Linked DNA regions of Homo sapiens: all the other regions are linked to region 2. The links are contacts of gene promoters, found by promoter capture Hi-C in blood cells and fetal thymus (Javierre and others, 2016). All regions are on one chromosome and are shown on one strand. Each heading gives the region's core, a stretch centred on a gene start or on the middle of the fragment in contact. The rest is flanking DNA. Distances are from core to core; before and after follow the strand shown. Region 1 has its middle 160 kb from the start of TFPI. Region 2 holds the start of LINC01090 (long intergenic non-protein coding RNA 1090). Region 3 has its middle 140 kb from the start of TFPI.

Evidence for each region. The method cuts DNA at HindIII sites, captures the fragments that hold promoters and counts their contacts. A CHiCAGO score of 5 or more calls a contact.
Region 1: a fragment that was not itself captured here is called in contact with the fragment with the promoter of LINC01090 in region 2 in 1 of 17 cell types (M1 macrophages); the score reaches 5.5 in M1 macrophages.
Region 3: a contact is called between a fragment that was not itself captured here and the fragment with the promoter of LINC01090 in region 2, in 1 of 17 cell types (M0 macrophages). The highest score is 5.6, in M0 macrophages.

What each region holds. Positions count from the first base shown.
Region 1 is chr2:187,710,586-187,714,522 of GRCh38, forward strand. No RefSeq gene overlaps it. Among named protein-coding and RNA genes, the nearest start is that of TFPI, 160 kb to the left of the region's middle. The HindIII fragment of the contact is 264 bases long and covers 2,227-2,490 here.
Region 2 is chr2:188,286,220-188,290,715 of GRCh38, forward strand. It overlaps LINC01090 (long intergenic non-protein coding RNA 1090), which reads right to left and starts at 1,472. Exons shown (of 3, transcript NR_126396.1): 1 at 1,248-1,472. The HindIII fragment of the contact is 11,348 bases long and covers 1-4,496 here.
Region 3 is chr2:187,690,405-187,694,309 of GRCh38, forward strand. No RefSeq gene overlaps it. Among named protein-coding and RNA genes, the nearest start is that of TFPI, 140 kb to the left of the region's middle. The HindIII fragment of the contact is 983 bases long and covers 1,537-2,519 here.

The DNA.
Region 1 (3,937 bases), core at 1,109-3,608, 570 kb before region 2:
TCTTTTAAAAAAGCTTAAAACCTTTTATTTTTCATAAACCAAACAGTAATTTCATTTCTAAAACTTATCAATGGGTTTTGAAGTGATCTTTCTTGCCATTTTCTCATCTTTTCCATCTCTCCAAACACTGAGATATTCTAAATAAATTGTACTTTATTCTAAATAAATTGTACTTTATTCTAAATAAATTGTACCTTTCAGTATCCTTATAATAATTCCTGTTCACACATAGCTTGTTTACATTATGATTTTGGCAGGCAAACTTATAAAACAGAATACATATACTGGGGATCATCATGTTTGTGTGGGTTACTCAGTTTAAATTTTCAAGAAACATGCATGATGAGATTATTTCAGTTAATGGGGAGTTATTTTAGGAGACACCAGATAATAAAGATAAAAAGAACACTTAGTACACTATCTCTTAGCTGAAGTTGTTTTTTCACCCACTAGCAGCCACTTTGTCATCTGCAGTGTCTTTTCAACATCCCTAAAGCCCTCTCAGCTCTGGCTGCCTTTCCACAAACAGTGGGGGAATTCCACTACTACCCTCTTTTCCTCCTTCACCAATGCCACTGCTTTTGACTAGTATCACAAAAAAAATATCAGTTGCACTAGTGATTAAACAAACCTGTTACTTCTCATAGCTTTGATTTCCCTAAAATAGCTATAATGCAAATCATGTCCAGTTTCTTAGGAGCAATGAATCCAGCCATGACTGGGATTTTTTTAATGAGTCATCAATCCTACTTTATTGGTTCAAAAACCTGAAACTTTGTACATAGTGAAGAGTCTCCTATTTGCTTTTAAAGCAAAATTTATCTGTAGAGCATGGATGCCAGGAAATGCTTCTCTTCTCTTTTCTATCCTCTTTGAGTATAAAGCATATCTTGGGATAATGGATGCTGAATTAGCTGTATACTGGTTAAAAATCTTTAAGGGCATAACAAAAGTTGTATATATAAATGAAATTCTCAGATGAGGAGCAGCTGTTATTTATGTTTAAGTTGCTTTGGCACTTCAACTGTATATTTTTATCTCATTTAATTATAGCTTTGAAAATAAAACCATCATCAAATAAAAAAAAATCAGTTGCCTCTCTCTTTGCCAAAGATACTATAGGTTTCAGATATTATGCAGATTATTATTTTTTAACCCAGAATACATTTCTAAGAAGATATTATAGTCCTTGCAGTTCAAGAAATCAGTAATTTATTACAACTGTTCACATGCTAGGACATTTTTTGAACATAACCTGAGTATCATACTATTTTGTACTAATGGTGAATTATTTATTCAACATTATAACATACCTTTGCAACTAATGTTTCATTGTGGCTGGGTAAGGTGGTTCATGCCTGTAATTCCAGCACTTCAGAAGGCCAAGGTGGCAATATTGCTTGAGGATCTTTGGAGACTAGCCTGGGCAATATATTGAGACCAATCTCTACAAAAAGGTTTTTGTTGTTGTTGTTGTTGTTGTTTTGTTTTTTTGTTTGTTTGTTTTTACTTAGCTGGGCATGGTGGTTTATGCCTATAGTCCTAACTACCGGGAGGCTGAGATGGGAGAATCACTTGAGCCCAGGAGATCAAGGCTGCAGTGAACTATGATCATGCCACTGCACTCCAGCCTGGGTGAGCAAGACTTTGTCTCTAAAAAAAGATAAAAGAAAACATGTTTTTTATTGCTACAAACTACATTATTTAGTTTTAAAAAATGAGAGCAGCTAATACTGAAACTATTATTTAATCAAATAACAGAGTATATTTTCAACAAATCGCCTTGAAAATTGAGAACATCAAGCTTCAAATTAGTCAGTTATCTTAGGTATACATTTTGCATTTGGATATGAGAAATACTTTTCAGTTAGATTTCATGATTGTGAATCAAAAGTTTTAATATAATAATGGTTTCTACAACATAAGACAAAGTGAAAGCATCATGGAACAAAAATTGCTTAATTTACAAAATTATATTTCATCTTTATGCTAAATCTTGTGTTTCCTTTAATATATGACTTATAATTATGGTCCCTTTAGTGCAGTTCAAGTAAGACATTGACAAATTGAAGATACATTAAAATTATTTTTCAGAAAGAAAAAATATCACCTCTTATCGTATAAAGTATATTGAAATTCCAGTTTTTACTTGAATTCTAAGCCAATACATAAAGGTGACTGGCTTTGCATTTTTAATTATACTTACCGCAGCAGACTTATTTGCCAAGCTTTCCAGTCACAACTTTTCACAACCATAGAATTCTAGACTTTCTTTTGAGAGAAGTCTTCTCATTCTGTATTTGGATAGAATGGAAAGAGTTGTCAATCAACTTGTTTTGACAAAATCACACTCAAAGTTTGTTTTCATAATACAACTTTTGAGTTTTCTCTTCCTTCCCATTTTCTCTGATTTCACCCTGCTTTTAATCCTAATCCCTTTTTTGTTGAAGTAGTATGTTTAGCACACGCACACATACACACAATCACACAAGCTTAACACTGCTATTTTAAACGATTATAAATGCATTGTTCACCCAGTACTTTTCAGAGTAATGGAGTGTGCTGATGGAGAAGTTGTCTTTAGAACCAAGGAAATGGCTTTGATTTTAATAACAAAGTAATACTATTTGTACTGGAACAGCAGACATCGCTGCAGCTTAAAGTACAGCCAGTACTAATTCACTGCTCATTATTTATTTTCTAGAAGAAAAACTGATTTCACAGGTCTGATCCATCCACTTTAAGGATGGATTACTTCCACTTTTTGACTTATATTTTATTTGCAGGGATCTTCAATAATGATCTAAGAAAAAAATAGCATCGTAGTTGTCAGAAAGTATAAATCTGTATGTCATTTAACAAAGAGCTTCTCAGTGCCTATTCTCAGCTTCAGTCTAGAGATCCTGTTCTGGGCCCTGAACAGTTAAACAAGAGTGACATGAAGACATATGGGAGGTGGTGCTTCCCGAGACTCCCAAACTTTGTTAGTCTCCAGTATGTTGATCTCCTCAAAAATAAATATATTTCTTTGGTAACAAATGCCCTTTTATTTGAAAAATAATTGATTTTGCTTTTTCTTAGTGGAAGAACTAAAATTACAGTGAATAAAATATCAGTCATCTATTTATTTTCTTTGCATAATCTCTTTATCATTATGAGCTATCTAACATGGTGAGATTAATTTTCTTACATTTTACATATGTCATGCTGTTATCTTCTTTGAGGACTTTTGATGACTTCCCTTTCATCACAAGATAATGTAAAAACCCTGGACACAGCATTTATGACTTTAAAATACAACTTCAACTCTAAAACCATAACTTCAGACATTTTCTCCTCAAACATCATTAAGACAAAACTGTTACTGCTTTCCTTCCTTCCCAAACCTTTTATAAAAATTCTAATTGGTTCCAATTTGATCAACTCTCTTCCTCTTTTTATATGTTTGCACTTTTTCCCTCTTCCCATTTTTTTAAGTCGTTTCTTTTTCCTGTAACGTATTCCATCTTCTTCTGAAGTCACCACAATTCCAACTAATCCTTCAGGGCACAACTTGTCTCATCTTCTTTATGAAACCCTCCTAGACTACAAAACAAAGCAAGTCTTCTTTCTTCTGTTTCCACCATAATCACACTTCCCAGTCATTTAAGAGCAATACGTGTGTCCAAAACCAACATTTGGGAAGGTGTAGCTTTACAGTATAAGAAGTCATAATGTTAATACAAAATATTGATATAACAATATTTATCCAGCAGCAATTTGTGGAGCAATATACTTTGTGTGGAGAACTTTTCTAAATGTTGGGTATAAAAGAATGATCAAAGAAGACCAAAAGCCCTGTTTTTGTGGAACTCATGTTCTGGTAAAGTGGATAATCCAAACATACATTATGTAAGTAAATTTCATAATATATTAGAACTTTTAGGGAAGAAATATA
Region 2 (4,496 bases), core at 222-2,721:
AGCATCCTTTTTCAGGATCAGAAGAAAAAATTGAATAATGAAGTGAATTCAAGTAAATTGATACATGAGTTGAACACACTTCTAACAGAAGACTTTTGTGGGCAAAGGTAGGAAATAGGAAGTTGTGACAAGGAAACTTAACAGAATGGATCCAAAGTTCATTTGGAAAAATAACTTTGAGAGAATAGTGATGAAACCTTTGAAAGGGGGAGAAAATAATAAAGGAGAATTTGCCCCAGTAGATATTTTAAACAATGATAGTTTGAGATAATTAATAATGTTCTATTGCAGAAATACACTGACTATTAAATGGGAAAGGACTACCGCTAGCCCACATGATGCCCAATTCTTTCCAAGGAAGCTCTGCAGGTGCTTGGCTAGGAGCCGAAGATGCCTTTGTAGTTAGAAAAGATATCCCTTTCTTCTTGCTCGCAAGCTCCATTGGCTTGGCTGGCAAAAGAGCTTGGCTGGATTTTATTCTGCACTGGACCTTTTTTAGGTGTCTTACTGCATTTTGCATGCTGTTTGACCACACCTGGAAGTTCTGATTGAACAGACCCTGTTTTATATCTAAGTTAACATATGATAAAAATTACTGCTAAAATCACTGGACAAAGAATGGATCTATTCAATATGTGGTGTTGGACACCTAGGTCATTATTCTGGGGGAAACAAAAGCCCTATCTTTAGATTTCACATCAGAATAAATTGAAAAACGAAAACTACAAAATACTAGAAGAAAATATTGCTAATTAGTTTGGGTGAAATGTCATTATATTTTTTAAAAACTCAAGAAATCATAAACCGATTACATTTAAAGAAATTCTACATAGTTTTAAAATAGAACAAAATAATTTAATTATTTTAATTAAGTTAATAAGACAAATACCCGTTTTTTGGCTAGAGGTTAATATATTTACCTCATACAGAACCTTTAAAAATCAATAAGAAAAAGAAAAAATATATGAAACAATAGAGAAAAGAGAAAAATGTACAGAATATATAAATAGCCACCTCACAAAAGAAAATATAAACGGTTATTAACTTTATGAAAACTTATTCAGTTTTATTAACAGTGAAAGTAATAAAAATTAAAGCGATTGAGCTGCTAATTTTTCACTAAGATTATTTGAAAATTTAAGTGTTTGGAGAAAAAAAATTAAGGGCCAAGATGGAATAGTTTACATGATGTCATTTAGGTAAACGAAAAATGCATATGAAAATAAATATTTTGAAAGAATACTTACAAAAAAGTAGTAGTATGGGCCGGGCGCAGTGTCTCACGCCTGTAAGCCCAGCACTTTGGGAGGCCGAGGCGGGCGGATGACGAGGTCAGGAGATCAAGACCATTCTGGCTACGGTGAAACCCCGTCTCTACTAAAAATAAAAAATAAAATAAAATAAAAAAATTAGCCGGGAGTGGTGGCGCGGCGCCTGTAGTTCCAGCTACTCAGGAGGCTGAGGCAGGAAAATGGCGTGAACCCGGGAGGCGGAGCTTGCCGTGAGCCGAGATCGCGCCACTGCACTCCAGCCTGGGCGACAGAGGGAGACTCCGTCTCAAAAAAAAAAAAAAAAAAAAAAAAAAAAGGAGTAGTATGTACGTTATACTTCCACATGAAAAAAATGGAAAGAAAATTGTTAAGTGTCTGTGGGTGCTGGGTAATGCCTTTCCTCTACTCCTGGTTTCCATGCAAAAATATTTTACTGGGTCTTTACTTACTTGCCCTTGGAGAGATGTTATGACATTTGGTAGATAAACTTAGGAATAAACTTGGGAAGAATTGCTGGGCATGCCAGGCTCAACTACCTTTCTCTCTCTTTCATTCTTTGGAATAGAACTCAAAAAACAATTTAAATCCTTTTTCAAAGGCACTGTCTCCTTTCAGGTTAGAAGGAGGCCAGGAACTACGTTGACTGAGGCTGCTGTTTCAGTTCTTTGCTTTTGGATCTACCAATTCAAATCCGTTATCTGTCAATCATAGAGTAATATTTTGCTCTCATTTTTTTGGTCAATTTATTCCCCACCCAGGCATAAAGAAGGGATACTATTTATCCGGGTCTCTCAGAGGCCTCAACAAACCTTGGAGCATATAGAGAAAATGTGAGCAATAGGTACTTTTGGTGATGGGAATACAGGTGATATTTATTTCCCTTTTGCAGTTGCCCTCCTATTTTTTTTTCTTTTTTTGCAATGGTCATGTTTCATGTTCTTAATCAAGAAGATCAAAATAAAGCGATTCTTTCAGAATGACAGATAAAATGATAGAGGTTTGAAGGTAAATGTAACACAGTAACTTTGGAACCCAGAGCCCCTAGGAACTCATAGGATATTTGGCCACTGTTACACATGACAAACAGAAACATGACCCCCTTTCAAATCACATGACTGAAATTTGAATTTCAGTCTTGGTTTTCATTACAGTTTTTAAAAAGTTGTCAAATACTTTAAATGTTGGTTTTGCAGAAATATAGGGCTAAACAACCAGCATATTTTTTGTGTGCTTTTGCAATAATCAGAAATAAAATTGGTTTTCTTAAGGTAAGTAACAGGTCGTTTTTTTGTCTTAGCCAAAGTTCCCTTAGTTAGGGTAAGAGAAACTTAATTCTGGTTTGAGCAAGAAAATTAATTTAAAAATACTGGAGGCCAGGCGTGGTGGCTCACACCTGTAATCCCAGCACTTTGGCAGGCCGAGGCGGGTGGATCACGAGGTCAGGAGATTGAGACCATCCTGGCTAGCAGAGTGAAATCTTGTCTCTACTAAAAATACAAAAAAAAAAAAAAAAAAAAAAAAAAATAGCCGGGCATGGTGGCGGCCGCCTGTAGTCCCAGCTACTCGGGCGGCTGAGGAAGGAGAACGGTGTGAACACGGAGGCGGAGCTTGCAGTGAGCCAAGATCGCACCACTGCACTCCAGCCTGGGCGACAAAGCAAGACTCCGCCTCAAAAAAAAAAAATAAATAAATAAATAAAAATAAAAATTACTGGAAAGCTGCTGAGTTTCTATCAGGGTCTATATGAACCTATGATGAATGTGAAGAACTTTCAAATGGAAATCTGAGGTATTTGCAGTAGGTAAAATTAGGCGTATTTGTCATCGTAGTGCCCTGCTAGGCTTCTGCAACCCTTTTCTTTGGCATCTCCCTTCTTCACTTCCTGGGGCATGCTATAAATTTGTTTTAAAATCTTGTTCCATTTGGTTCTATTGTTTTTAAAAACTTGGTTCTGACACTCTTGAGATTTTTATACCTCTAAGCCATTTCACAAAGAAGATCATATCAAAAGTCAGGTTATAAAAATTACAAAGCAATAGCAAGTTTAAAGACTTTAAACAGTGGGAGAAAATATAAAAGTGAGTAATCTTTAGCACTGTATGTAACGATTGGAAAAAGACAGTTATGAGGACTCATCTATCTTCATTTATCCATTCATGATGGATGTGCTTTGTAGCCATATTTTTTTTTCCCTCTTTAGGATCTTCCAAGTCTTATGGATAGGAAAGACAGATCTCTAAAGAGGCTATGATATGCCTTTAGGAAACTGAGGATGAGGCCGGAGTAGTAAATAACTCTTACTTAGAAGGAGTATATAGGGTCTCATCCCTGAGAACATGGGAGTTAGTTATGTAAATGTTCAGATGATTTTCAACATTGTATATGGTAAGGAAGAATTTTTTAAAAAGACCTTCTTACAGGTACTAGAGGCAAATGAATGAGAAATAAGTACATGCTATGGGATTTTCCATTATTTCACAGGATGGAAAGTTTGATCTCTGTAGCCTGATTTTGTTCTTTGGCCTTGAACTTGTTCAAGTTGAATTGTGTGTCCTGAACACTGATCTAGTTGTTCACAAACTAGGGTCAGCCAACTGTAGTGGTATGTTGATGTATTCTTGGGAATCGAGAGTTATTATAATCTTTTAATATTATGGCTAAAAAACCCAAAATATCTATGTGTAAATATATAATGTAAGCATGGATTCGTTCATCTCATCAACCTCCTTATTCCTAAATACTGGACTACCATTTGTTTTATTTTTATAATCACATTGATACCAAGTGATCATCTAAATGACATTATTTAATTTTTAATGATTGTTCATAAATTAATTGCTTAAGAGTTATTTACAGAAAAAAACTAGCATTTGTCCTGAGATTAATATTTTTAATATAATTATTTTTATGTGTGCTTGACTATTGTGATAAAGAGAAAAACAGTTAAAAGAGGACCCCAGCCAAGTTATTATGAGGACTGATTTCTGATATTAGCTTTAGTACCTCCAAACCATGAGATTTGGGGAAAGTCACTTAAGAGCCCTAGACTTCAGTTACCTTGTATTTAAAATAAGGGAGTTCAGCTGGAACTAGTTAATCTGTAAACATAGTTTCCATTTCAAAAATTGTGAAATGATGCCTTTTTAAATGGAAAAAGCATTAAGGAGAAGAAAACTGATTCAGTTACAGGGTCTTTGGGGGAAAATTTCTAGCACCACCCTCTCT
Region 3 (3,905 bases), core at 778-3,277, 600 kb before region 2:
CCATTTCCTGTAGCTCCAGTCTTATATATCCAATTGCATATTTGATAAAACTGATAGGCAAATGGAACATACTATATCTCAAACCAAATAAGCCTGATACCTCCCTACACTGAATCTGTTCCTACCCAGAGCCGGCCCCATCTCATTGATGGCAATCCATTCCACAGGTTACTCAGGACGAAAACCTCACCATCATTCTTTTGTCTTTTTTTTTTTTTTTTTTTTTCTTGACGCAGTCTGGCTACAGTTGCCCAGGCTGGAGTGCAGTGGCATGGTATCTCAGCTCACTGCAACTTCCACCTCCCGAGTTCAAACAATTCTCCTGCCTCAGCCTCCTGAATAGCTGGGATTACAGGAGTGTGCCTGGCTAAGTTTTGTAACTTTAGTAGAGATGGGGTTTCACCATGTTGGCCAGGCTGGTCTCGAACTCCTGATCTCAGGTGATCCGCCCGCATCGGCATCCCAAACTGTGGGGATTACAAGCGTCAGTCACCACACCCGGCCATCACCATCATCCTTGACTTCTTCCCTAATATTCCACATCCAATCTGTCATGACATTGCATTTTTCTCCCAATATACCTAAAATTGGTTCTGATATACCTAAAATTGGATTGGACCCCTCTTTTACGACTTCCGCTTTGTTTACGCCACTACCGTCCCTTACTTCACTTAGTTCACTATCTTCCTAACTGGTCCCCCTGCTTCCCAAGTTGCCTATCTACTTTGTATGATCAACACAACATTCATTGCTGAATCTGATAAAATGTATATTAGGCAATTTATCCCTCTGCTTTAAAATCTTCCAGGGACTTCCTGTTTGATTTACTACAAACGTTGAGGCCGTGTTAGGCTGTCATGAGTTGGTCTCTTGCTTCCTTTTCTGTCTCATCTTTTATTGCTCCTCTATTGCCCCGTCTTCTCTAGTCCTTTGCTTTTGCCTCCTTAAAATATACCAAAACACCAGGCACCACCATATGAACTCATTGTTCAAGATCACCTGCTCATTGAGCCTTACCCTTACCATACTATGCAAAATTGTTAATGAACACCCCTCCCTCCATCATATGTTTGTCACCTTTTATGGTCCCTGCTTTATTTACTGTATTTTTTCTAGTAACACTTATTAACACCCAACATACTTTTATCTATCATGCTTATAGTTTAAAGCCAGTCACTCCTAGCTAACATCCTAATTTCCTACAAGCTAGAATATGTGCCTGTTTTGTTAACTGATGAATTCTAAGTACTTAGAACAGTGTATGGCTCATATTGAACACTCAATAAATATTAGTTGATTGGATAAATATTATGTTAAATCACTTCAGTTTAGATTGTATAGAAATAAAATTTGTATTGCATTCAATGATTACTATCATTTGAATATTGTCAGTGGGGCATCATAATAAATGGACTTTCATTTTGTGTATGTTAGCTTGGCAACAACGTTGTTGAAAAGCTTGTACCTAAAATACTTGAAATTTCTATTTGATGCCACTTATAGAGAGATTATAGAAAATCTAACGAGACTATTATAAGCTTCTTTAGCACTGAAAGAAATATCTTACTTCCATCAGAGGGATTTAGGTGATCCAGATTCTAACCCTAGGTCATATACAGGATCATTGTATAACCTCAGGCAAAGTACTTGAGAGTGAACATCTTTTGCTTTCGAAATAGAGAAAATAATTGCCCTGAAATTTTTATGTATAGTTGAAAGTACCAAGAGAGATTATGTTAGGGAAAATGCATTATAAACATATATAAATGTTCTATGCATGTAATTACTCAAATTATATAAATTATACATAAATATGTATAATGTTTCAGATTTTGACTTTGGATTCTGATGTATCAAAAGACTTCTCTAAATTCAAATTTGTTCTGTAGCATGAAACAATAATAAACTATGAAGACTTTAATGATTTATAAAAGTTTAGAAACATTTTCAAATGCATTAATTTAATTTAAAAATTCCGTTCTCAAGAGAGATTTATTCTAGCTAAGAAACAAATGAAGCATATTTATCGTTAAAATCCTTCCAAATGTGTTTCTAATACAAAAGGAAATGAGTTTTTTTCACTGACATTATAGTACAGTAATGGAAAGAACAAACTTTAATGCAAATTGTGTTCAGCTCTGATTGCAACAATTATACATTATCTTAAGAATAGTTTGTAGTAGATGATCAATGTTCAGATTATCAAGGTAAAATGTAAAGGTTTGTAATAATTATTGTATAAATGATATCTATATAATAACAGTAATTTATTGTTTTATTTATAGCATATGTATTTCTATGTAAGAATAGTTATATTTATAATCATTATAGCATAATCCACACTATTCAAAACTCAAAATTTAATTTTAGAATAATTTTATGCTAACATTGAGATTTATACAAATTACAAAATGTTTTTGAATATGTGATACTCTTACATTTTCAAAACTATTGATTAAAAAAAGGTATATTAATCCTATTTCAAGGATGAAACTTTTAGCAACATCACACAACAGCCAAGCTTACTGACTTTATATTCCTATATTCTATATCATGGCTCATTATTATTTATGTCTTTTCTTATAAGATTTGTATATGGGTTTTATATGTGTGTATCTCCAACCTATATAATTTAGAAAATGTTTGTACATATAGCAAAAAGACCAAGACAGTTGTTAATTACCATAAGTTAATTTACTAACCTATCCAGATAAAATCACTAAATGTTTTATCTCTACTTTTATAGATTAGAATGAATATGCCGCTAGTATAATATATTAAGAAAATAGGAAACATAATTAACTGAAAATAAATTGTAAGCTTTAACATTTTAAAAAGTCAAAATAGCAGAATATGGTGGAAAAAATACATATTTGTCACCAGATCAATTTGAATTTTAATAATGGCTGTGACCATTAGCAAGTTTCAAACTTTTCTAAGCCTTGAATTCCTCATGTGCAAAATGGGAAAAACTACCTTATATACCCTTACATTCTTGGAAAGAACAAATGAAAATTCTGATAAATATGTGTAAATTAGATGTAACAGTGTGCTACCAAAAATATGATTGCAATAATATTTTGATAACTAGTAATCTATATATGTATATGAATATGTTATGTATGAAATGAAACTCATTCCATATGATATATGTTATGTATTAAATGTTATATATATGTAAACACATACATATGTAGGAGCAGATAGAAGAATATACACATACACAATTTTCCTACATCCATGCTGTCTGAATAATAGCTTTAAAATTTGAAATATATATAAATTGTCAAAAATAGCATTTAACACATTTTTATCCAAGAACACTTATTTCCTTGAAAATTTGAGTTTGGCATATATAACTTTCAACCAACTCATATTTACTAAACATTCAATTTCAAAAATGTTAATAGATATTATATCTTATACTTTATTTAACAAGCACTTTCATTTTACCCCCAGAAAAATCCTGTGTGCAACATGCTACAAGTGTCATAGTTATATGTCACCAAACAGGTTTATAATATAGGACAATTTGAAACAGATTATTCAAAAATTTTGTTTACTTTTAATTGACAAATGAAAATTGGGTACAATGTGATACTTTGATACCCATTGTATCTGTGATAATTTGATACTGTGATAATTAAATCAATCTAATATATCTAACATCTCACATACTTACCATTTTTTTTGTGATGAGAACATTTAAAATCTACTCTGTCAGCAATTTTCCAGTATACAGTACATTATTAACTATCATCACCATGCTGTACACTAGATCTCCAGAACGTATTTCTCCTATATAACTGAAACTGCTTACCCTTTGATGAACAACTCCACATTACCGCCCTCTTCCTACCCACGCCAGCCCTTGGTAACCAGCATTCTACTCTCTACTTCTGTGA